Linked DNA regions of Homo sapiens: all the other regions are linked to region 1. Evidence: promoter capture Hi-C in 16 types of primary human blood cells and fetal thymus (Javierre and others, 2016). All regions are on one chromosome and are shown on one strand. Each heading gives the region's core, a stretch centred on a gene start or on the middle of the fragment in contact. The rest is flanking DNA. Distances are from core to core; before and after follow the strand shown. Region 1 holds the start of GDNF-AS1 (GDNF antisense RNA 1). Region 2 overlaps LINC02107 (long intergenic non-protein coding RNA 2107). Region 3 has its middle 43 kb from the start of LINC02119. Region 4 overlaps WDR70 (WD repeat domain 70).

Evidence for each region. Contacts are between HindIII fragments. The CHiCAGO score rates a contact against its expected background, and 5 or more counts as called.
Region 2: a fragment that was not itself captured here is called in contact with the fragment with the promoter of GDNF-AS1 in region 1 in 1 of 17 cell types (M0 macrophages); the score reaches 5.9 in M0 macrophages.
Region 3: a fragment that was not itself captured here is called in contact with the fragment with the promoter of GDNF-AS1 in region 1 in 8 of 17 cell types (M0 macrophages, M1 macrophages, M2 macrophages and 5 more); the score reaches 35.3 in M0 macrophages.
Region 4: a contact is called between a fragment that was not itself captured here and the fragment with the promoter of GDNF-AS1 in region 1, in 1 of 17 cell types (megakaryocytes). The highest score is 6.2, in megakaryocytes.

Annotation. Positions count from the first base shown.
Region 1 is chr5:37,837,106-37,842,500 of GRCh38, forward strand. It overlaps GDNF-AS1 (GDNF antisense RNA 1), which reads left to right and starts at 2,779. Exons shown (of 4, transcript NR_145476.1): 1 at 2,779-2,933. GDNF (glial cell derived neurotrophic factor) reads right to left here and starts at 2,936. Exons shown (of 3, transcript NM_000514.4): 1 at 2,402-2,936. RefSeq lists enhancers at 333-402, 1,860-2,797. The HindIII fragment of the contact is 7,909 bases long and covers 1-4,646 here.
Region 2 is chr5:38,160,345-38,165,697 of GRCh38, forward strand. The region is part of intron 2 of LINC02107 (long intergenic non-protein coding RNA 2107); the gene reads left to right. Among named protein-coding and RNA genes, the nearest start is that of LINC02119, 15 kb to the left of the region's middle. The HindIII fragment of the contact is 479 bases long and covers 1,783-2,261 here.
Region 3 is chr5:38,188,964-38,194,154 of GRCh38, forward strand. No RefSeq gene overlaps it. Among named protein-coding and RNA genes, the nearest start is that of LINC02119, 43 kb to the left of the region's middle. The HindIII fragment of the contact is 1,904 bases long and covers 850-2,753 here.
Region 4 is chr5:37,488,533-37,493,415 of GRCh38, forward strand. All of the region lies in intron 8 of WDR70 (WD repeat domain 70), which reads left to right. Among named protein-coding and RNA genes, the nearest start is that of WDR70, 110 kb to the left of the region's middle. The HindIII fragment of the contact is 255 bases long and covers 2,528-2,782 here.

The DNA of each region.
Region 1 (5,395 bases), core at 1,529-4,028:
GGAAAAGGGGGGAGGTTGGGGGACTCGGCACACACAGCGTCTACTAGGACGTTTTTCTTAGAGTCCGTGTGGGCTCCACCCCTCGGCTTCTCAGTTTGTCTCTCTATCGCTTTCCCAAAACACATCTACATCTGCCCGACGCGCTTCTCCTCAACCATGGGCCTTTGCCCGCGGTGCAAACTGCTTTACGCGCCGCCACGTGCGAGAACCAAGCTCTGCTCCTCAAGTGACGGGGGCTCTGCTCTGCCAGGTGACCGCGCACCATTTCTCGTGCCTGGCAAGCTGGTCCCCTTCTGGGTCCGGGACCACCACGTCCCGGCAGGGCAAAAGCAGCAGGCCGTGGGCGCCGGCACCTGTGGGTCCCCAGGCCTGGGGAGGCAAGGACGCCCAGGAAAGCCACAGAAGTGCTCGCAGAAGCAGCCGCTCGCCGCGAGGCACTTCTGAGTTCCCGGCAGCAGGGGGCACCAGAAACCGTCTGAGCCGTGTCGCGCCCACGCGGCCCGGAGGCTGTGTTATCATTTTAGTTATAAAACCGGAGAACCACCACTCCCTCTACGAGCCTCCCGAAATCCCATTAGCCCGGGAACCTGTGGAGGTCCTTACTGGCATCTCTGCTTTTCAGGCTCCCACCCCTCCATTCTCGCTGGTTTTCCTCTCCCCACTTCACCTGAGCGGGTTTCTTGGCAACCTGCTTTCAGACCATCCCTCACCCCTTCCACGCGTCACCGTGACAGATTCGCAGGAGGCAGCGCTCCCGCCGTCAGTGCCCCCGCACCTTCTTGTGCCTGGCAGGCTGGGAGGTTTGTTTGGGCTTTGCCTTCAAGATCCAGGTCTCAGAGAGAGAAAAAGGAGGCGGTGGGGCGGGGAGACGGGTTTGCTATAAACTCGGTTTTTTTTTTTTTTTTTTTGGCGGGGGGAGGTAGAGACAGAAATTGCTGGAAGATCTATTGCTTTTCTTAACTATGCTTCGTGTCCTTGACTGACAGAGGACTTATTCTCCCCTCAACCCCCCATAACTGCGGGGCCCAAGATGAGGGAAGGAAAAAGAATTTGGGACACTTCTCGCAGGCAAACTGGGAAAGCGGTCTGTTTAAAGGGCCAGGTTCCAGGCCCGAGAGCACCCGAATTGCTAGCGGGAAAGGGCTAGGGACACGGCGGACTTCCCAGAGATCGGACACTTGTTACTTGTTGAAAAGGCGCCACCTTCCCTGACAAAGCGAAGGCGCAGCGAAACAGTACGAGTTTGGTCGAGGCCGGCTTTGACGGCTTTGCGGGACTGGGTGCGTGAATGAGGTTGGAAGAAACATCTCTTCCTTGAAATACCTAAGCATATATTCCAAACACTGAGCAAGAGTCGAGCGCGTTCTAACATCTCCGCAGCAGGGGCCGGAAGAGTTGCCTTTGTCCCCGCCTATGAGCAGAAGGGTCGCGAGCTCTGGGATGGGTAAGCCCCCCGGGGGCGCGCACATGGGTCCTGGCGGCGGATTCTACCAAAGCCGAAACTAGCTGGGCCCCAGGAAGCTGGCGGGAACCCGCGAAAGTCCGTTTCCAGCCCGAAGAGGGTTCGTTTTTCTTCGTTGGGGCAGGAAACAAACCACCAGTGCGGAATTAGCCTCGAGGTGGTGTAAAGTAGTGGCAGTGGTGGTGGGGTGTTTTTGGAAGGCGGCACAGAGTACAGGAGAAAAAGGGGTCATTAAAATAATAACCTCAATGGCCTAGTGGAGTCTCAAGAATACGTTCGAGACAGAGATTTGAATCCAGGACTGGCAAGAAAGCCCCTCTCCTAACCTCGACGGGGATGGTTAGTTGGGGTGGAGGGCGTTAGGAACGTGCAGGCAACCGGGTGAGGAATGTAGCTTTGCCAGACCTCGCCCGGAGGAGGTGAGCCCTCCATTTTTAGGTTCTCAGCACCTTTGCAGCAGCCCCTCCCCCGGCCTGCGCTTTTCCTTGGCACAGATCAAAACAAGCTCAATAGTAAGTTGCACTCTTGGCAATGATAGTATCTCTGCACGTCCAGAGAGGACACATTTCGACGGCGGTGGGTTCGAAGATGACCCAAGCCCTGAATCGTTCTGTGACTTGACGGAAGAGCACCTGGCCGAGTCGGGGAAGGAAACTGCCCCTCTTGGGCATTCCGGGTCCAGGCGCATCTGGGGCTCCACAGATCTTTGCCCACGTGGAAAAGGCAACATGCCCCTCCGAAAGGCCGGCCTCTCTCCGGTTCTACTTTTCTCTCTCCTCGCATAGCTTAGGTTCCCTCTAGTCTTTCCACTTTCTACTCTCACCGTTTGCTCTGGGGTCCAGACGCACCCCTCTGACTAGGGCGCCCTTCAGCCGGCCGCACCCACCCGCGACGCAGGCACCACCCGCTCCCTGCTCCCCGGCCCGCTCCCTCACTTACCTCGGATCGGGTCTCCGCAGACCCTAGGTTGGACATTAACTCCAGGTGCCCCAAGTCCCAGCCAGGAGACCCATCCGGGCTGATGGCTGGAGCGCGGAGCCCCGCCCAACAGGTCAGGGGCAAGAGTTCGCAATCCTGGGGTCGCGCGGGGCAGCAAGGGCGCGCTGGAGGCGGCGGCCAAGACTCCCGCCGCCGCCGCCGCCAACAGGGCGAGGGCTGCCGGCAACTCTCCCGCCGGGCCCCCGCACCCCCAGAAGCCGAGGTCCGAGCAGCCGCCGCTGCTTTGGGTGGGGGGCTGACAGGGCTGCGCGCGTCGCGCTCTTGGCTGGGGCTGCGCGGGCCCGGGGCGCTGCGGGCGGCTCAGCGGCAGCTGCCGCGCTCTGCGCCTCCTCTGGGCGCACTGCCTGGGAGCACGAGACTGGTTTGTCTGATGCTGCTGCCGGAGCTGAGGTCTTGCCTGGAGATCCGAACGAGACACCACGTCAACCGGCGCGGGGAGTCCCGTGAAGACATGAGGGCGCCAGGAGCGCAGGCTGGTCTTCTAGAGCCCGGGCTGGGGGTCCGGGGTCCGGGGTGGGGGAGGGGAGGCGCGGGGCCCCGGGAGGGAGGGGTCGGGAGGCGTCGGCTGGGCCTGGCGGTGGGGGAGGAGAGGAGAGCAGCGAGGAGGCCCTGGAGTTCCCGAGGCGGGGGGCCGGGGTGCGAGTGGGCGACGCGAGGCGCCCCTCCCTGGGCTGCAGGGAGAGCGCTGAGAGCGCGGAGACGCCGCGGGGCTAGCGCCTTCTCCTCTCCGGGTGGATCAAAAATCGAGAGGAATGTGCGGCGCTCTGCGCGGGCCAGCCGAAAGGGGCAATCCGAACTTGACCGCGGCGCCCGCGCCGGGCTTTGCCCCCGCGCGCCGCACTGGGAGGGTGGCGCTCTGCCGGTGCAGGGCAGCGCCGGGCTTTCCTCGCGCCTGTCGAAGGCCGGCCTTCCCGCTCGGGTGTCTCGCCCTCTCGCTTCTCCGCAGGGCAGGAGGCAGTGGCGAGAAAAGGAGCTGCCGGCCGGAGTTCTAGCACCGAGAAGGAGAGGTGCGGAGCGGCCGGGTGAGGGAAGCCGAGTATTTGCCAGGGGACGCTGCGAGTGGGGATGAATTTATAGGGCTCTCACTCCGTGACGTGCCCTCCAGTGGCTTTTCTGATTCGCTTTCTGACCTAAACACACATTAGTTTAGTCCCCATGCTAAGGCCAACACGGTCTCCAAATATCTGCTGGCTGAAGTCAGAGGCTTTGCATATCATGTATTACATGGCAGGCAATGAAGAAGGCTTCTGAGGCTGGCCGGCTCCTCAGTCCTAGGCTCCATTTTCATGCTGTTGTAATCTAATACCAGACATGGGGCAGGCACATACATTCAAAATCCCAATTCCAGAGGCGTAAGATCACTTTATCAGGAACGGGTTAGGGGAGGTTGAGCTAAACCTGCTTTTATCCAGATTTTCGAAAATGCAGATGGGAAACTTCAGCAAGCGCCCACTTGGATGCTGAGTTTCCAGCGATCAGGGGCCCGGCCCCCATTCCAGAGCTCTGTGGATGGGAGAGGTGAGACCTTCTGGGCATTCCTTTTGTTGGTTAGTTCACCACCAGAAGCTGCCTGAGCCTTCTTTTGTAGAGGACAGGAGGAGGGCAAGTCCTTACACACCCTGTGCATGGCTATAACCATAAATACATTTCATTCACATGGGGCATGGAATTGGCTGTACCTCTAAAATAATGTACTAAATAGGGCATGTCTTTGCTAAGCAGAAACCTGTTTTCCGGAAGCCATTGGACCTGAATTCAGTGGGACCTCTTTTATTTTATTAGCTGGGGCCAGGGAAAGTGTAAACAGGCTCAGTTTACGTCCATGTACCTCTTATTTTATGACTCATCCGGTTGTTGGGGAGTATGTGTTCTTCAAGTAGCTGATACAGACAATAGGCAGGGGAAATGCGTGTGGCAGTGTGGGGGGAAGATCATGTATTATTAAACTTCTTAAAAGTCAAAGATCAGCTACTTTGCAGGTTTGTCAGTGAAGCGAGTGTGGGAGGAAAATTGTTCTTACTAACGTTGCTGTGATTTAAGATTAAGCGAAGTGAAAATCGAGTCATCAAAACATACCTTAGCTGAAATTAGGATGCTCTCTGGAGTTCTGCAGAAAATGACATTTCCCTCTTTGATAGATTTATGGTAGAAATGTAGTTAGATTCAGAAATTAGAGGGCAGAATAAGCTTAATATATTTATTGCCGTTTAGCATTGTTTTTGGAATTTGAAGACGACCCTCATCAATGTTCTTACTCTGAATGATTTCTTTATTTTTAGAGGGCTTTTTGCTGGGGATGATCAGCCCGTCCAAGCACCTGCAAATATCTAGCACTTGCTGTGTGCCAGGCAAAGTGCTAGGCCCTGGGCATTGTGCTGATTGGGCTTTTTTTTTGGGCGGGGGGCGGGGGTTGCAAGGAACAGATACCACTGAGGTTTACCCTCAGTAATGGGAATTTACTGTGGAAGGAAGGCTGACCGGAATCTCCACCATTCCGCCACGTGTCTCCGAAAAGCCTTCCGGAAAGGCCACCCAGCCAGGCCTCATGAAAACTGGATTGAAGTTCAGGAACTGGAAGGTCATTCAGGATACAGCTCTGTGACTGGGTTATCTCGCTGCCCCCTCAGCAGCAGGCATCTGCCGATCCCCACTAACGGCTTAGCCGCCAAGGTGATTCAGCTCCTCTCTCGCTGTTTTCCCCTGGGTGTCCTTTGGCTTCTGCTCCTGCTACCAACTGCTCAGCTCTCAGTTGATCTCACATTTAAACTCCTTTAGTGAAAGGATCTAGTTTGTCCTGCTAGGGATTCACCAGGGGTGAGAGTTGGACTGAGCCTTTGTATCAGTCTCCTTACAGGTTGCAAAACACCCTGTATATCCGCAGACCTGGGGGCAGGTGCCTATCCTGGGCCAATCATTCATGTCCAGGTTGTTGGC
Region 2 (5,353 bases), core at 772-3,271, 320 kb after region 1:
AGGCTGAACTAAATTATTATTATGATTATTATTTGAGACAGAGTCTTGCTCTGTCGCCCAGGCTGGAGTGCAATGGCGTGATCTCAGCTCACTGCAACCTCCGCCTCTGGGTTCAAACAATTCTCCTGCCTCAGCCTCCTGAGTAGCTGGGATTACAGGCACGCACCACCATGCCCAGATAATTTTTGTATTTTTAGTAGAGACAAGGTTTCACCATATTGGCCATGCTGGTCTCGAACTCCTGACCTCATGAAATAGTAATAATATGCATCTTAGTCCATGGAGAAACCATTTAAAACTATAATAATGCAAACAGGTACAGCTAAAAAGTCTGCAGAGAAATTGAGATAGAATTCTAGAAAAATATAAAGTTTCCACAATAACCCAAAACAAGATGAAAACTTACATGTATAGAAAGTTTACCATGAGGATATTAGGAAAGTAATTAAAATTTTCAATTAAAATGTTACCATGACAAAACGGTTTCATAGTTGATTTCTAATGAACTTATTTTAAAATAAGAGATAATTGTAACAGTATTTACATTCTTTGTGACTTCAGAAAAAGAAGAAAATCTCCCTGTAAAGTCAGCACAGTTTCCACACAGTTGATTTCAGGGTTCAGCCATCAATCTTATGGGGCTGATTTTTAGCGGAGCTGATCTTTCTTGTGTAATCCTGTCCTTTTTGCTATTTTGAAGATTCACGTGCTCACTTCACCTCTCCCTAAAATTCCCACAACAATTAGCATTTGGAAATATGGGGATCACTAGTCTGATATCTCAGTTTTGAAAAGTTATTTATCCCTAGAATAACTGATAACTTTGTTTGTCAGGTGGAAAGGGAGGGAAGGAGGGAGGACAGAAGGAGAGAATTAATAGACCCCAATCGCCTGATATGTGCCAGCCAATTCTCAAGTGTTCTTCAACACCCCTAGGAGATCATCAATATTACTCCCCCTTTTATAGACTCTGAGAATCAGAAATGCTTTAAAAAATACAGGGGGCCGGGCACAGTGGCTCGCGCCTGTAATCCCAACACTTTGGGAGGCTGAGACGGGCGGATCACGAGGTCAAGAGATGGAGACCATTGGTCAACATGGTGAAACCCCGTCTCTACTAAAAACACAAAAATAAGCTGGGCATGGTGGCATGTACCTGTAGTCCCAGCTACTTGGGAGGCTGAGGCAGGAGAATGGCGTGAACCAGGGAGGCAGAGGTTTCATTGAGCCGAGATTGCGCCACTGCACTCCAGCCTGGGCAACAGAGCAAGACTCTGTCTCAAAGCAAAAACAAACAGGAAAAAAGCTCCCTCCTTCTGTGAGGTCGTGTAGTTAATAATGGCAGGTGTGAGATTTGGAGGTTGAGCTCTCTGATTTCAGGGCATGTTGTTTTCTGTTTCTTCCAACTGCCGGATGGATTTTTTTGAAATACTTAATGGGAAATTTTCTCTCTTTGTATTCAGTTTCTTCTAGAAACTCGAAAAGGCGCGTCTTTTTTTCAGTCCTGGTGTAGCATCTTCCCTTCTTCCAAGAGATCTGCCCTTTCCTGTTAGCATCATCATGAGAGTAACAAGCAGCTGAATTTTCTAAGAAGGGAGACTTGCTCTTCTGTAATGACCTAGAGCTTACTTCCCTCTCTGTGCCTTCCAGTCCCTTGTCTTTAATCTCATCTCTGGCTCTCACTAAGGTGGAATTTAGAGTCACTAACACCTTTGTTTTCATTCAACAACACCAACGATGAATTCGTAAGTTAACTATTTTTTGTGCCAAGTGACAGTGGGAAGCTTGGGAATGCCATGCTGTATTTCTTGGCCTCCTGGTGCTTCCATTCTAGTAGAATTAAATACTGTAACACAGGGGTTCTCAGCCCTGGCTACATGGTAGAAACACTTGGCAAAGTTTTTGTTTTTGTTTTTTGTTAATGCCTGGGCTCCTCCCAGAGGTTCTAATTTTTTGGGTCTGGGGTGAGGGCTGGGTATCAGCATTCTTTAACCTTCCCCTACCTCCCAACCCGCAAGACAATTCCAATGGGCAGCTTGGATTAGTAGCTACTGACGTAATGTGCTTCCCATCAAAGGAATTAATAAAAGGATGTTTGGGACAGTTGCTAAAGGAATATATCCTGAATGTGGAATTTCAGATATTATGGCTTTTAGATAAAGGAGATACTCTGGAGCTGAACGTCCTTCCCACCATCCCTCAAGTTCACGCCATGTAGCAGGTGAAAGCTCTGTCGATTGCTAAAGTCAACTTGGCCCCAAAGCTTTCTGGATCAAAATTCCCCATGTATCCTGCCTGTAGATTATATGGTATCATTAGTTACCATTCACTAAGTGCTACCTGAACGTTACCCTACTGAATTCTCACAGTGATCTTGTGAGGCAAGCTTTCTGAGTTTCGTTTTACAAATGAAGTCTCAGGGACGGTCAGCAGCAGCTGGAGGTCACATAGCTAGAAAGTGAGACGGCCAGTGCCAGTCATCAGCTCTTACTCATGACACTGCATCCCAGAGGCCAAGCCTGTGGTGTTGAGCAGATTAGTTTGAGAAAGAGGCCAAGAGAAATCATAATTCAGTCTCAGACCTGCTCAGCCCATAGGCTCTGCAGACCCATGTCTATGCTGTAACCCAACTTAGATCAGCTGGTCTTATATCCTGAATTAGGCTAAGCTAAATTATTATTATTATTATTATTATTATTATTATTATTATTATTATTATTGTTTGAGACAGTCTCACTCTGTTGCCCAGGCTGGAGTGCAATGGTGCAATCTCAGCTCACTGCAACCTCTGCCTCCCGGGTTCAAGCGATTCTTCTGCCTCAGCCTCCTGAGTAGCTGGGATTACAGGCCCACAGCACCACGCCCGGCTAATTTTTGTATTTTTAGTAGAGACAAGGTTTCACCATATTGGCCATGCTGGTCTCGAACTCCTGACCTCATGATCTGCCTACCTCGGCTTCCCAAAGTGCTGAGATTACAGGCGTGAGCCATCGTGCCTGGCCAGCTGAGCTAAATTACATGTAATTCCCTTTGTTCCTTCTCAGCGTTGTCACTCTTAGAACACAGCACTATCTCTATTCTTAACTATCTTTTCAAAAACAAGAGTGAAAGAAAGACTTTGTTCTTCACATCTTCCTTTCCCCCTTTTGCCTCGTCTATCAAGTCAGCCATAGGTATTTAGGGCTAGGCAAAACTGGGAAGTGACTGATACATGTTTTCATCATCATTACCCTCTCCCTTCTGTATTTTCTTCCCCTTTGTGGAATCTAGACCTTTAGCCTTCTTAACCGAAACTTTCTCAGAAAGGATAGGATAAATTCATTACACTACAGTGTGAATGACTGATAGGATTTCATGTGCCACCTTTCCCAGGGACAGGCACATTTTAACAGGGGACAAAGAGTTCAATTTGGGAGTCCGATACATGTGAATTTAAATCTCAGGCTGCCTTCTGGTTATGTAATGCTTGGCAAGTAACCTAACCTGTCTTAGCTTCAATTTCCTCATCTCTAAAAAGAGAATAATACTTCAGAGGGTTGTGATGAGGATTAAAAAGATTTGAGACTGTGCCTAACACAGTGCCTGGCACATAGTAAGTGCCTGTTAAATGTTTGCCCCCTTTTCCTCTCACCTCAATGGCAGAATTCATGCATCAGGCAGGGGTAAAAGTTCTTTGGGACATGTTGTTTCAGAAATTTCTCAACAGCACATGGCCTCCTACTTCCTCTACTCCATAGACCAGGCATTGTTGAGGAACACATTGAACTTTTCCCCAGTGAGTCACATTAACACACACATGCTCCAGGACCATGGTCGTGGGATATAGGCATTTCAGGTAGGAAGGCCATGGCTATATTTTACATCGAGGCTTCGTCTGCCCTTTCTTATAAGTCTAAAGCCTCCCCTAAAACACAGGTATGAATTCACAGATTAGCATCTAATCTCCAGTGTACTAAATGTTTGCGTACTGCCAGCATTTTGGAAGAAACAGCTACCTCTTGGTCTTTCTTTCTGCAGAAGTTGAAATGCAGTTCCTCTGAATGAAAAGCTAGAGGTTGCGTTCACTCAGAGTGTGGCTGAAATGCAAATATATTTCAGACTTTGTGCCTTTATCCCAATGCAGTAAAAAGGTGACGACTGTTATTAAAGAACAATGCAAAGCCTTTAATTACCAAGCTTTCAAGGAAGCTTTATGTACTGCTTTGACTTTCATTATCTGTCTTTGTCATCCTTGTAAAATATCCCATTAGACTTTCCACTAAGGCAGAGAAACCAGACTGACAACGGAAACTAAGTTGTTTAATTGTTATTATGTTTCAAAGTTTGAAGTACAGAAATTTTTTTTTGTAATTGTTTCAGGAAAAGAAGCTTGGATTTGAGGACTAGGTTGGGTGAGTTAAGTATTGAAATAAAGCCTGCTGCTGGATCCAAATTCTTATGATATTACAGATCCTGCCCAGTTACAGTAGGATTCTGGCTTCACCTTGACTGTGTGTACAGAGCAGGCTTGAAGCCCCAGTGGTCTTGGTTCAAAGCCTGACTAGGCCAATTACTGAATGGTAGACCTTGGCAAGTTCTGTAATCTCTCCACGTCCCAGTTGCCTCATCAGTAAAATCAGCAGAATGACAGTATCACAAAGTGTCTTTGTGAAGGTTAACAACATACTTATGTAACACACTATCACATCGACCAGAGAAGAGTCAACAAATGCTACTTCCCTTTCTCCTTTATATGCAATCAAAAGTAGTTAGTCCAGAACAGTGACATCTGATGAAATCAAAGTGGGCATCAAGGGCAATGCTGGAAGAAAATCAAAGAGAAGTCATAGTGGGAAAGTGGGAAGATACTGTCCAATGTGTGTGCGTGTGTGTGTGTGTGTGTGTGTAAGCCCCAGTCTTTGAAACTCAAAGTGTTAACTATAAAAATTCCAATACATTTGGATATGTACCTTATAATGAGGGCTGCAAACATGAGTCTCAACACCAGCACAGGCAAGGGGTGCCATTTACTTGGTGTGGCGATGTTAGTTGCCACCAAATGTCATGTTCATAGCAGAGGATTTGATGAGTTAATTCAATCCAAGTCCAGACACTAAATATCTTGCAGAACAAACAACAATGGGTCATGCATTTTTGAGACATGTTTTCTGCACCGCCCCTTTTTTTAAACTAAAGTAGTCTTTCCTGGCTCCTGAACACAAGCTGTCCTCATCTATTTCCTAAGATAATCCATTATAAATTATGACAGGTTCCCCAGATCCTGGCGGCCGGCGCAGCCCAGTGTGCTGCCCAGGTCTCACTTTTCTGTCCTGGTCATCTCCGACAAGTTCCATGCGTGACTGGTCAGGAGACG
Region 3 (5,191 bases), core at 552-3,051, 350 kb after region 1:
TTTTTCCGTGAACATGTCTAAGGAGGGTTCCAGAAAATATGTAACTCTGCAACACATAGAGAGGGCAGACAGCTAGCACAGGGGGGTCTGGGCTGGAGGCTTCTCCAAGGCCCTGCTGCCTAGCCACAGACAAGTGGCCTGAGCCCCCGGAGCCCTGGGCCTCTGAGGGTTGTCCGCTGGGTGCCTGTTGAGCCCCTGGATCTGTGTGTTTGGGGCTCCCTACTGGCCGGGGACTCTCGCCTTGCATTCCTTGCCTTGATCCGCCTCTGGGCCTCCCGTCTGACCTCCGGGGCCTGGGTGTTGGCCCGGATTTATGACCCTGAGCTTCTTTTTATCTCTTCGGGAAGTAAACGTTTTGGTTGGAAAGTTTTTCAATTTCCTCCTGGCCTGGACCAAACCGCTCATATTTCCAAGGGCAAGATTCCCCTCTCCTCACAGGTTCTTGTGCCCTGAAGTGTAATTAGGAGCCTCACTCCACCTGCAGACAGGCTCCTGCAAATGCTTTGATGGTGGTGACCACGACAAAGACAGCAGGCTGCTCTATGCTTACCCAAACCTCACATTTGCGGAGTAGAGTTATTGGTTTTTTTTGTTTGTTTGTTTTTAGCAGCTGTAGACACAAGCCACTCCCCTGCAGACCTCCTCCTCTGATTCCCAAAGGAAAAGACCTTTCCAAAATGTATATGAGAGGCAGGGGCACAAGTTCTTGAAGCTGGATGACCGTTGATTGCCTTCCCCTAAGTGTGCCCTACAAGACAATTACAAACTCTCTTGAGCCACAGTCTCTCAGGAGAGGGCTAGAAACCAATACTTTTACCGAGTGTCCCAGGTCCTTCTGCTGCACCCGAAAGCTTTAGAACTGCTGCTGTAGAAACTGTGCAGCAGATGGAATGGGGCAAAGCGAATCTTAGTCCTCTTGCTTTTAATCCCCTTGAAACCCTAAGCATTGTTCTCAAGAAAAGAACATGAACCCAGGACAGTTCAGCCATGTCGCATATTGGGCCTCTCACCAATAACAGTGCTCCATGGTTTTATTTATTTTTTTGCCGAAAGTTTCCATCCAATTACACACGCATCTTTTTTTCTCCTCCACAGTGTCCCATCCTTCCAACTCCCATACTCACCCTCCCAAGCAGTTTCCCTCTTAGCCTGGTCCCCAACACGATGTCATTTGAAAGTCAGGGCATCCCTTTTATACCGTCGTGAATATCTTCCAATCTGATGGGTCCTTTTATCCTGAAACGCTTCACCCGCTTTCCACCCCAGCATAACTTCACCCACCACTGAAGTACCGCCAGCCGGCTCAGGAGGGTGAGCGGCAGCTGTTGCCCTGTTTAGGGCAGGAAGTGAAGAAGAACATGATATTCAATTAAAACTGCAGGGGGAATTCAGCGAGACAGCAGGGTCTAATGGAGACTGATGGCCTGGGAGACCAGCCGGTCTGAGTTCCATTCCCATCTCTGCCACCGGCTCACAGGGGTGACCTTGGGTCTGTCACTAAAACTTTCTGGGCCTTCGTTTCATCTGAAAAATGGTAGTGATGATACCTGCATCCTCACAGGAATAGTTACGAGGATTAGGGAGATTAGAAAAATACACAGGGCTCTTTTGATCCCTTTAAAGTCAGCAGTGAAGGATGGATGGATGCAGAAAGCGGTCTTAGGCTAAGTAGAATTGGCTGCCAACAACAGGATGTGATTTGAGGTGTAATCAAAAGTCGGCCGGTGCTGAGATAGCTCCCCTAGCAGCCTGTGAGCTGCTCTGAAATCCCACTGCTGGACTAGAGAGCCAGGCTAAAACACAAGTGTGACAAGTCGCAGCAATAACATACCATCAGCCTTTGCATGAGTTAGCTGGAGTAGGTTGCTGGTTTCCCAGGAGAAAAAAAAAATGGGCCCTGAGTGATTGAGGCCCTAGAACAGGTAACTATGACTGACGGAGAGTTTAGATAGAAAGAATGCAGGAGCTCAGAGTCAGGGGAACTGTGGTTAGGGACTTTGTGGGGAGCAGAGTGGTGTGAGGAGAGTGCCAGAGCCATGGAGAATGTTAATTACAGAAGCTGATTTTCAAAGTACTACAATAGGCCTGGCGCAGTGGCTCACACCTGTAATCCTAGCACTTTGGGAGGCTGAGGCAGGCAGATCACTTGAGGCCAGGAGTTCAAGGCCAGCCTGACCAACATGGCAAAACCCTGTCTCTACTAAAAATACAAAAATTAGCTGGGCGTGGTGGCATGCACCTGTGATCCCAGCTACTCAGGAGGCTGAGGCAGGAGAATAGCTTGAACCTGGGAGGCACAGGTCACAGTGAGCCGAGATTGTGCCATTGCATTCCAGCCTTGGTGACAGAGCAAGACCCTGTCTAAAAAAAAAAAAAAAAAAACAAAACACTACAATAAATGTTAGATCATTCGTCCCAGTAAGAGCCTTCCCTAGGCAATGTCTGATGTCTAACTTTCATGTAAGACACTGTAGACATCACTTCTTACTAACCTTTGCTCTTTATAAAACTGGCGATCCTACATTATGTGTTCATGACACCAAGAAAAAGCATTGCCCTCGTGAAAGTGCTATGATGATGATGATTGCAGCTGTGCGGGCCAGTATTATCATTTCAATTTCAGTCGGTACCCATTTGTTGAGTGTCATCACACTAGGGAGGATGGTGGGGGAGGAACAGCATGGGATTTGGCGTCCTGGGGCTTGGGTTGGATTCCCAGCTCTGTCACTTTGTTCTGGAACCTTGGATACTTAAGCTTTCAGGGATCCAGTTTCAGCTGGTAAATTGGGATAACAGACCTACCTCACATGCTTTCCAGAGGATCAGATGAGGTGATGCAGTGTGAAAAAGCCATGCTGGATGTGACAGAGGGCTACACAAAGGTGAGCTGCTGTCTAAATCAGGACAGGCTGGGGTCTGCTGCTGTAACAAACAAACAGTAACCTGACATTTCAATGGCTGCATGTCAGCCACAAGTCAGCCTAGGGGGCACTCTGCTCATCAGAGTCACACAGGGACACAGGCTCCTGGAGGAGCCCTTAGCTGCCTGCTCAGGAAAAAAATATGGTAGAGTCTGCATTGGCTCTGAAAGCTTCTGCTTACCTTTCATTAGCCACAGAAAGTCACATGGCCACATCGACTTCCAGTGAGCAGGGAAGTGCCATCCTATCATGTGTCAGAAGGAGATAGAGTTGGAATATTTATTCACAGCCTATGACCCGAACAGTTGCTACTCTACAAGGCTGGATAAGATGTGGTCCTTGTCCTCAAGACGCTTACCAGAGCTCACCTCAAGATCCCTACCCAGGGGTTTTGGAAACATCTCCAGGAAAGTGTACCCTCTTCTTTCTGCCATGGATCCCTGCCCCTGCCTGCCCACCACACGGCCAGGGCCTCATCACTTCTAGCTACCACATGAATGGCTTTGCTAAAAGCAGCTAGAACACCCACATGCTTCCCTGGCCTCTGCCACTCTTGTTGTAAAATAACCTCCAAGGCCTCTTTTTCGGAGCTTGTGCCTTCCCTTTGTCCTTCACCCAGATGTTGAGGAGAGGTGCCCAGGTGGCCAGGTTCGTGACGATCCCCCAGGCTGCAGCTAATTGCACCATGCTTGAATGCAGCTGGGAGGAACAGCTCTTTGCTTGCCTGGAGCCCTTCTTGTACCAGATGTCTGCGGACCTTCCCACCGCCCAAGCTCAGGTCTTACTGCCTTTAGGGAAAGAATGAAACAGGAAAGCTTAGCTCATTTGGTGTCTCTCACCCCAGGTTAGAACCATCTTTCTGTTCTTCTGCTGGAGCAGAGACATCTCTGTAGCTCCCTTCTCCATCACCCAGAGATTCCTGGGGTGGCCTGAGACTCACCAAAGCCTTTTTCTTCCTTCCTCTTGAGTGGTGTCCCTTCTCCTTGGACACTTTAGTTGGAGTCCTGAGAGAGAGAATGAAAGAGTTTAATGCAATACTATTAGTAATAACAATAAATATAATAGGTTACCATGTGCTAGGCTCTGTTCTGAGTGCCTTGCATATATTAACTGATTAAATGTTCACAAGAAGCCTATGAAGTAGGTATTATTAATAGTCCCACTTTAGAAATGAGGAAGAAACGCGCTCAGAGAGGTTATGTAGGTTGTTGAAGGTCACACAGCTAATACGTGGCAGAGCTGCGATTTAACCAAGACCGTGTGACTACAAAGCTCATACAGATCTGTTTTTATCATGGCAATTAGGTCTACAGTGGTTGAGAGAGATGGTTGAGGTTACAGATGGCAAGGGCGCCTTTATTCCTGGTGCTGGCAAAATGGCCTTCCCGGTGTATTAGGAGGTCGTGCCTGCCCTCTGCTGGTCGTGAATGAGCATTGCCACTCAGAGGATGTGGACGAGAACCCGCCGGCAAAGCACTTCACAGGTATTTCAAAGAGAGTAAACAGGCAAATAAACTTGCAGCTTACATGCAGCAGCGGCATATTGACTATTTCTTTCCCTCTGGTTTGGTGTGTTTTACATTTGTTTTTTTCTCCTGGAAAAAAAAAAAAGAGGAATAAAAAGCAAACAGGCAGCTCTCCACCTCTGAGAACAAGCAGAAGAAAACCACAATTATGCAACTATCAAATAACAAGTCTATGTGTTTATTGTCTCATGGAGATTGTAATGTAGTACTAGATGCCCAAAATGTCATCCTAAACAGATGTAAAGGCACATTTTTGGTCGTTCATAACTAAGTTAGGGTAAAATAGTTTCCTAAGTTAATCAGGGTATTCTTCCACTATCGAACGTTGCATGCAAAAAGATTCTTCATTTAAAAAAGTTCAGCTGTTTTGAATTATCTATGTTCAAATAGAAATTTTGTGTCCCTTTCTGATTTGCTGTAGAAAGACAAAGGTGGCCATCTCTGACTAGGCTGCAGTGCAAGTCAGCCGGAGACATAGCACATAGCACATTACAGGGACCCAAGATTTTTGGGCTTATAGTAGTGACTACTCTTAAGGGGACAATCTGGCTTCTTCGAAGGCCCCCAGCCAAGAGGACCCCTTCAGACAAGTCAGTCCTGCCCACTAAATCTTTATGGGGAGGGGAGTAGAAGGGAGAGGAAACACTGCCACGAAAATCTAATCCTGAAAACTGTCCCTGGGGATTAACCAGCTGAAGCCAAGTATTAGTTCTCACACTGCTATAAAGAACACCTGAGATTGGG
Region 4 (4,883 bases), core at 1,405-3,904, 350 kb before region 1:
TGGAAAGACCTGTCTTCAAGTTCTGAAATTCTTTCTTGTGCTTGATCTAGTCTCTTGTTGAAGCTTTCAGTTGTATTTTTTATTTCGTTTATTGAATTATTCTAAGATTTTGTTTTTGTAATTTATTTATCTTTGGTGAATTCTCATTCATATCCCAAATTGTTTTTCTGGTTCCTTTGTATTGTTTATCTGTGTTCTCTTGTATATCACTGAGCTTCTTTTAGACTACGATTTCGAATTTTTTTCAGACATTTCATATTTTCTTTTCGCTGGAATCTGTTGGTGGAGAATTATTGTGTTCCCTTGGAGGTGTCACTTTTCCTTGCTTTTTTGTGTTTCTTGTGTTCTTACATTGTTATCTGTGCAACTCTTGTAACAGTTACTTCTTCCAGTTTTTTGGATTGGCTTTCATAGAGGAATATTTTTTCCTGTAGATGTATCTATGGTGTTGGTTAGGTAGGGCGCTTCAGCATTGATTCTGGATTTGTGTAGTAGTGTAGTCTCCATATGACTTCTTTGGCTTTAAACCCTGTCAGTGGTGTCTGTGTTTTCCTCAGAGGCTTAGGTGAATTTGTTAGTGGAGGCTGTGGTGAGGTTTAATTAGGTGTGGCAATGCCAGGTGGGCCAGTCTTCTGGCCCCAGTGGTGGCAATGTTGGGCTGAATGTCCCTGTTCTTGGGCCCTTGCGCACAGTATATGAGCACTGGTGTTAGTAGGTTCAGACAGGCTGATATTTGAGCCTCCAGGTGGCTTTTTGAGGTGCCAGTAGTGGCAGTGGTGAGTTGAGTGGGTGGGTTGGGCCCCTGAGCATTGTGCATGGTGTTGGTGATGGCAGTATAGTGGCAGGGCAACACCTGGGCTTCCAGGTAGCACACACTGTTGTTAGTGGTGGCTGTGACAGACTGGGCAGCCTGGTCTTCAGACCCCCAGGTGGTACACATAGCTGGGTGCCAGGTTTGGTGGTGGTGGCAGGCTGAGCAACCTTGTCCTCCAGCCCCTAGGGGGTGTAGATAGATATAAGCAGTGGTAGACTGGGCAGGGTGAACCCCCAGGCCTTTAGATGGCATGCTTAGGCACTGGCAGTAGGTTTTCTGGCCTGTTATTATGCCATCTGGTAGTACACACTCCTGCTTGGAGTGACCAGTGGGGCACAGCAATCCTAGGCTATATGGTAGGGTGGTGTGGTAGGGCACTTGGTTGGGGTGACATTGTCAGGTCTAGGGTGGTGTGGTAGGGCACTCAGGGGGTGACAGTGTCAGGCATTTTTTTTTTTATTATTATACTTTAAGTTTTAGGGTACATGTGCACAATGTGCAGGTTAGTTACATATGTATACATGTGCCATGCTGGTGCGCTGCACCCACTAACTCGTCATCTAGCATTAGGTATATCTCCCAATGCTATCCCTCCCCCTTCCCCCCAGTGTCAGGCATTTTGGGGCTGTCATCAGGTCCCCCTGATGGTCCAAATGGGTATAGGCTGTGGTAGGTGGGACGGGGGCAATTCCTAGGCCTTCAGATGGCGTGCTATGGTGCGGCAGGCATTCTGGGGCTGTTTGGTCTCCTTATGTGCATGTGCCTGAGGTGACTGATGGTGCAGGGGAATCCATAGGCCCCTGGGCAGTGTGATAGAGAGCACTGGGGTTGCTGGTGCCAGACCTTGTGAGCTTGTCCTTAAGGCCTCTGATGTTGTGCACAAATGCAGGCTGTGTTGGGCAGGGCAGGGTGATCAACATGTCCTGGATAGTGTCCTTGGGTGGTGGTTGCAGCAGCAGTAGTAGGCAGGGAGAGTCTATCCTCAGGGCATGTGGAAATGAACAGCTCTGCTAAGGGGAAGGCTCAATGACAGAGGTGGTGGGGGTGGTGGTGAGGGAGATTGATGCCAGTGGTAGCCATCCCAGGCAGATACATCTCAGTCTCTGGAGAGCACATGCTTTGTCTCCACTTCCCCTATTCCCTGTGGCATTGGCTGCATTGGCTAGGGTGAGCCTGTCCTCAAGGCACATGTACCACAGTCCTGCTGTTGTGGGTAGCAGGGTTGCTGTCTGTGGTACCTGCCCCAGGCAGGTGATTCTTAGGCTCTGGTCCCTGGCTGCAGCAGCAGGCAGGGAGAGCCTGCCCTTAGAGCATGTGCGGGTGTGCTGGGGCTTTGTTGCCGGGGGTAGGTGGGCAAGGTTACTCTCAGTGGCAGTGACCTGAGGCAGGTGGGTCTGGGCTTTGGCTCCCTTTGTCCTAGAGGCAGCATCCACAGGGCTCTGGATTGTCCTTTCTTCAGTGTACTGGATGCTGTGTGATCCAGAGTGCTGGGGATATTTCTGCTGTGCTGGGTCCAACTGGTGTCATGTGCTACAACCCTCTCAGTGGGTATGAGGGGATGTCATGGGGCCTCCAGGGATGTGGAGATGCAGGTACTGTTTGGCCCCAGAAAGAAAACAGACTGGTGGGGTCTGGGCTCTCAAATTCGTGCCATGCTGCAGGTGCTTGGGTTTCCAGGTGTGCGTGGAACCTATTGTGAGCTTCCTCTTTAGAAGCTTGTTTATACCAGTCTCAGCTTGTCAGGGTTAAGGGACTGTGCTATGGCTAGGATTGCAGGTATCTACAGGGAGAATGTGGATGCTGGGAATCTTTTACTCACCTTTTCCCCACACTGAGGAGCCTCTTAGGGCTCCCAGCTGGTCCTGGCTGGGCTCTGTGCCTTGCTTTCTTCAGTGCCTGTCACTTCTCTGCTGAATTCCAACATTCTCTCTTTGATGCTGTATTTGAAGTGTGATTATCTACTCATTAAGCTTTTCTTTGTAGAGGAGGTGAGTGTCTGGTGCTTCTAGTTAGCCATCTTGAAGTCCCCCATAAGCTTTCTTTTATCAGTTCATCTAGAGCTGATATTGTTCAGTGCCTTTCTCCAGGATTGTCTTCAACTCTTTTTCTTTTCAACATGAAAGCAATTCTCTGCCATTTATTTTTAAATTACATGACTAAGGTGGAGAAAGCAGGTTCAGGATACCTCAGAATGCTTGGACATTTTAGTGGGAGATATCTCCATTAGCGGATCTTAGTCATGGAAGTTAGAAGAGTTTTCAGATGTTTTATTTATTTTTGAATAGTACGTGTAGTCATTCTGATACCCAGCTATTCCAAAAAAATGGCACTTATTATTTGGAGATGAAATATATTAGTCATGTCTTTTTACTGGTGAATACTTTCTCTTAAGAACTTAAAATATTTAATTTTTATTAAAATAACTGTTCTGGGTTTATTTTTGTTTTCTTGAGCAAAAGAAAACTGTTAACTTAAGGTATTAATAATAGATATAACTAAAAAATTGAATGATTTGAAGTACATTTTATTTCTTTCCATTTTCTAAATATTTACAGAAACTTTAATAGAAACTTCTTAACATTGGTTTCTGCGCTTTTGACATGTCCCCATCATTTTTGGAGTACTTTCTTACATTTTGGCACAACAAGATGTTCCAGGGTCATCTTATACTTTCCCTAATTTGATCCTACCTACTTTTCTAGTGATCCATGGCTTCATTCAACAGGGAAGTCAATTTAGAAATTAAGATTTGGTACTCTGGTTATATTCATTGCTGTTGGGTGTCATTGCTTCTAGCCTCAAAAGACAAAGCTAGGAGGGAGATAAACCAATCCAAAAATTAAAATAAGTAAAAAATTATGAGTTCATTTGGATACATCTAATTCTAATCCAACTTTCTAGCCTTTTCCCGTTCCATATTCGTAATTCACTTCTCCAACAGTGAAGAACATGGCTTTTAACATTATAATTATATTTACTCATTTGTTCAGTGTTACAGTACATGGAAAGTAGTTTCAGAATTGCTACACCCAAAGCTCTTGTTGTAGGGTGAATTCTAAGATGGCTCCTAAGAGTCCCTGCACTTCTCCTTGAATGTAGTTTTGAACTATAAGTATAATGGGCTAGTCACTCCTATGATTACATTGTGTGACACAATGGACTTTAAGAAAGAAAATTGTCTTCAGTGGATCCAGCCTCATCAGGTGAGCACTTAAAAGCAGTTGGGCTCTTCCTGGCAAAAGGTATTCTAAGTGTAGGAGGGACTTGATGTCAGGGAGATTCTCTGCTGCTGGTTTTGAAGATGAAACCAGAACTTGTGAATGATGAATTTGAATATATAGGCAAGGAGATTTCTAAGCAAAATGTTGAAGGTGCTGCCTGGTTTCTTCTTGCTCCGTATAGTAAAATATGAGAAAACCAAGGGAAGTTTTGTTAAAAGGGAACCAAGACTAGATGATTTAGTTAATTTTTAGCCTATCAAGATGACAAAGGATGCTAACATATAGCAATAACTTCTGAAAGCATGGTATGGAGAAAGCCAGGGATGTGGCTGTATAATAACTTCAGAAAGATCAAAAGATGAGAGTATTCAGTCACACTGGACTCTTCCAAGAAATTAAGGGCGTGCCTCACAGATCTTCTTAACCAAACCAGGTGATCTCTAGGAAACTTAAGAGTATTGCTCCTTAACAAGTTAAACAACAGCTATAGATAAAGAACAGGTTGTTTTGCAAAGATTTGTGGGTTTGGCTTTCATCATTACTTAATATGTTTGTTTTTTACAGAACTGCATTAATTTTCTATTGCTCTGTAACAAATTACCAAAAACCAGGGACTTAGGACACCCCCAGTTTATTACCTAACAGCTGTTTAGGTCAGAAGTCTGTCACAATGTGGCTACATTTCTCTGCTGAGGGTCTTACAGACTGAAATCAGGGTGTCAGTAAGACTGCACGCTACTAGGTCAGCATTCCTAATGCATTCCTTGCCACATAGTTCCCTCCATCTTCAGGGTCAGCAAAGGAGAATCTTTCTCATGTTGCATCTAATGGAGATTGCACATAGGGTC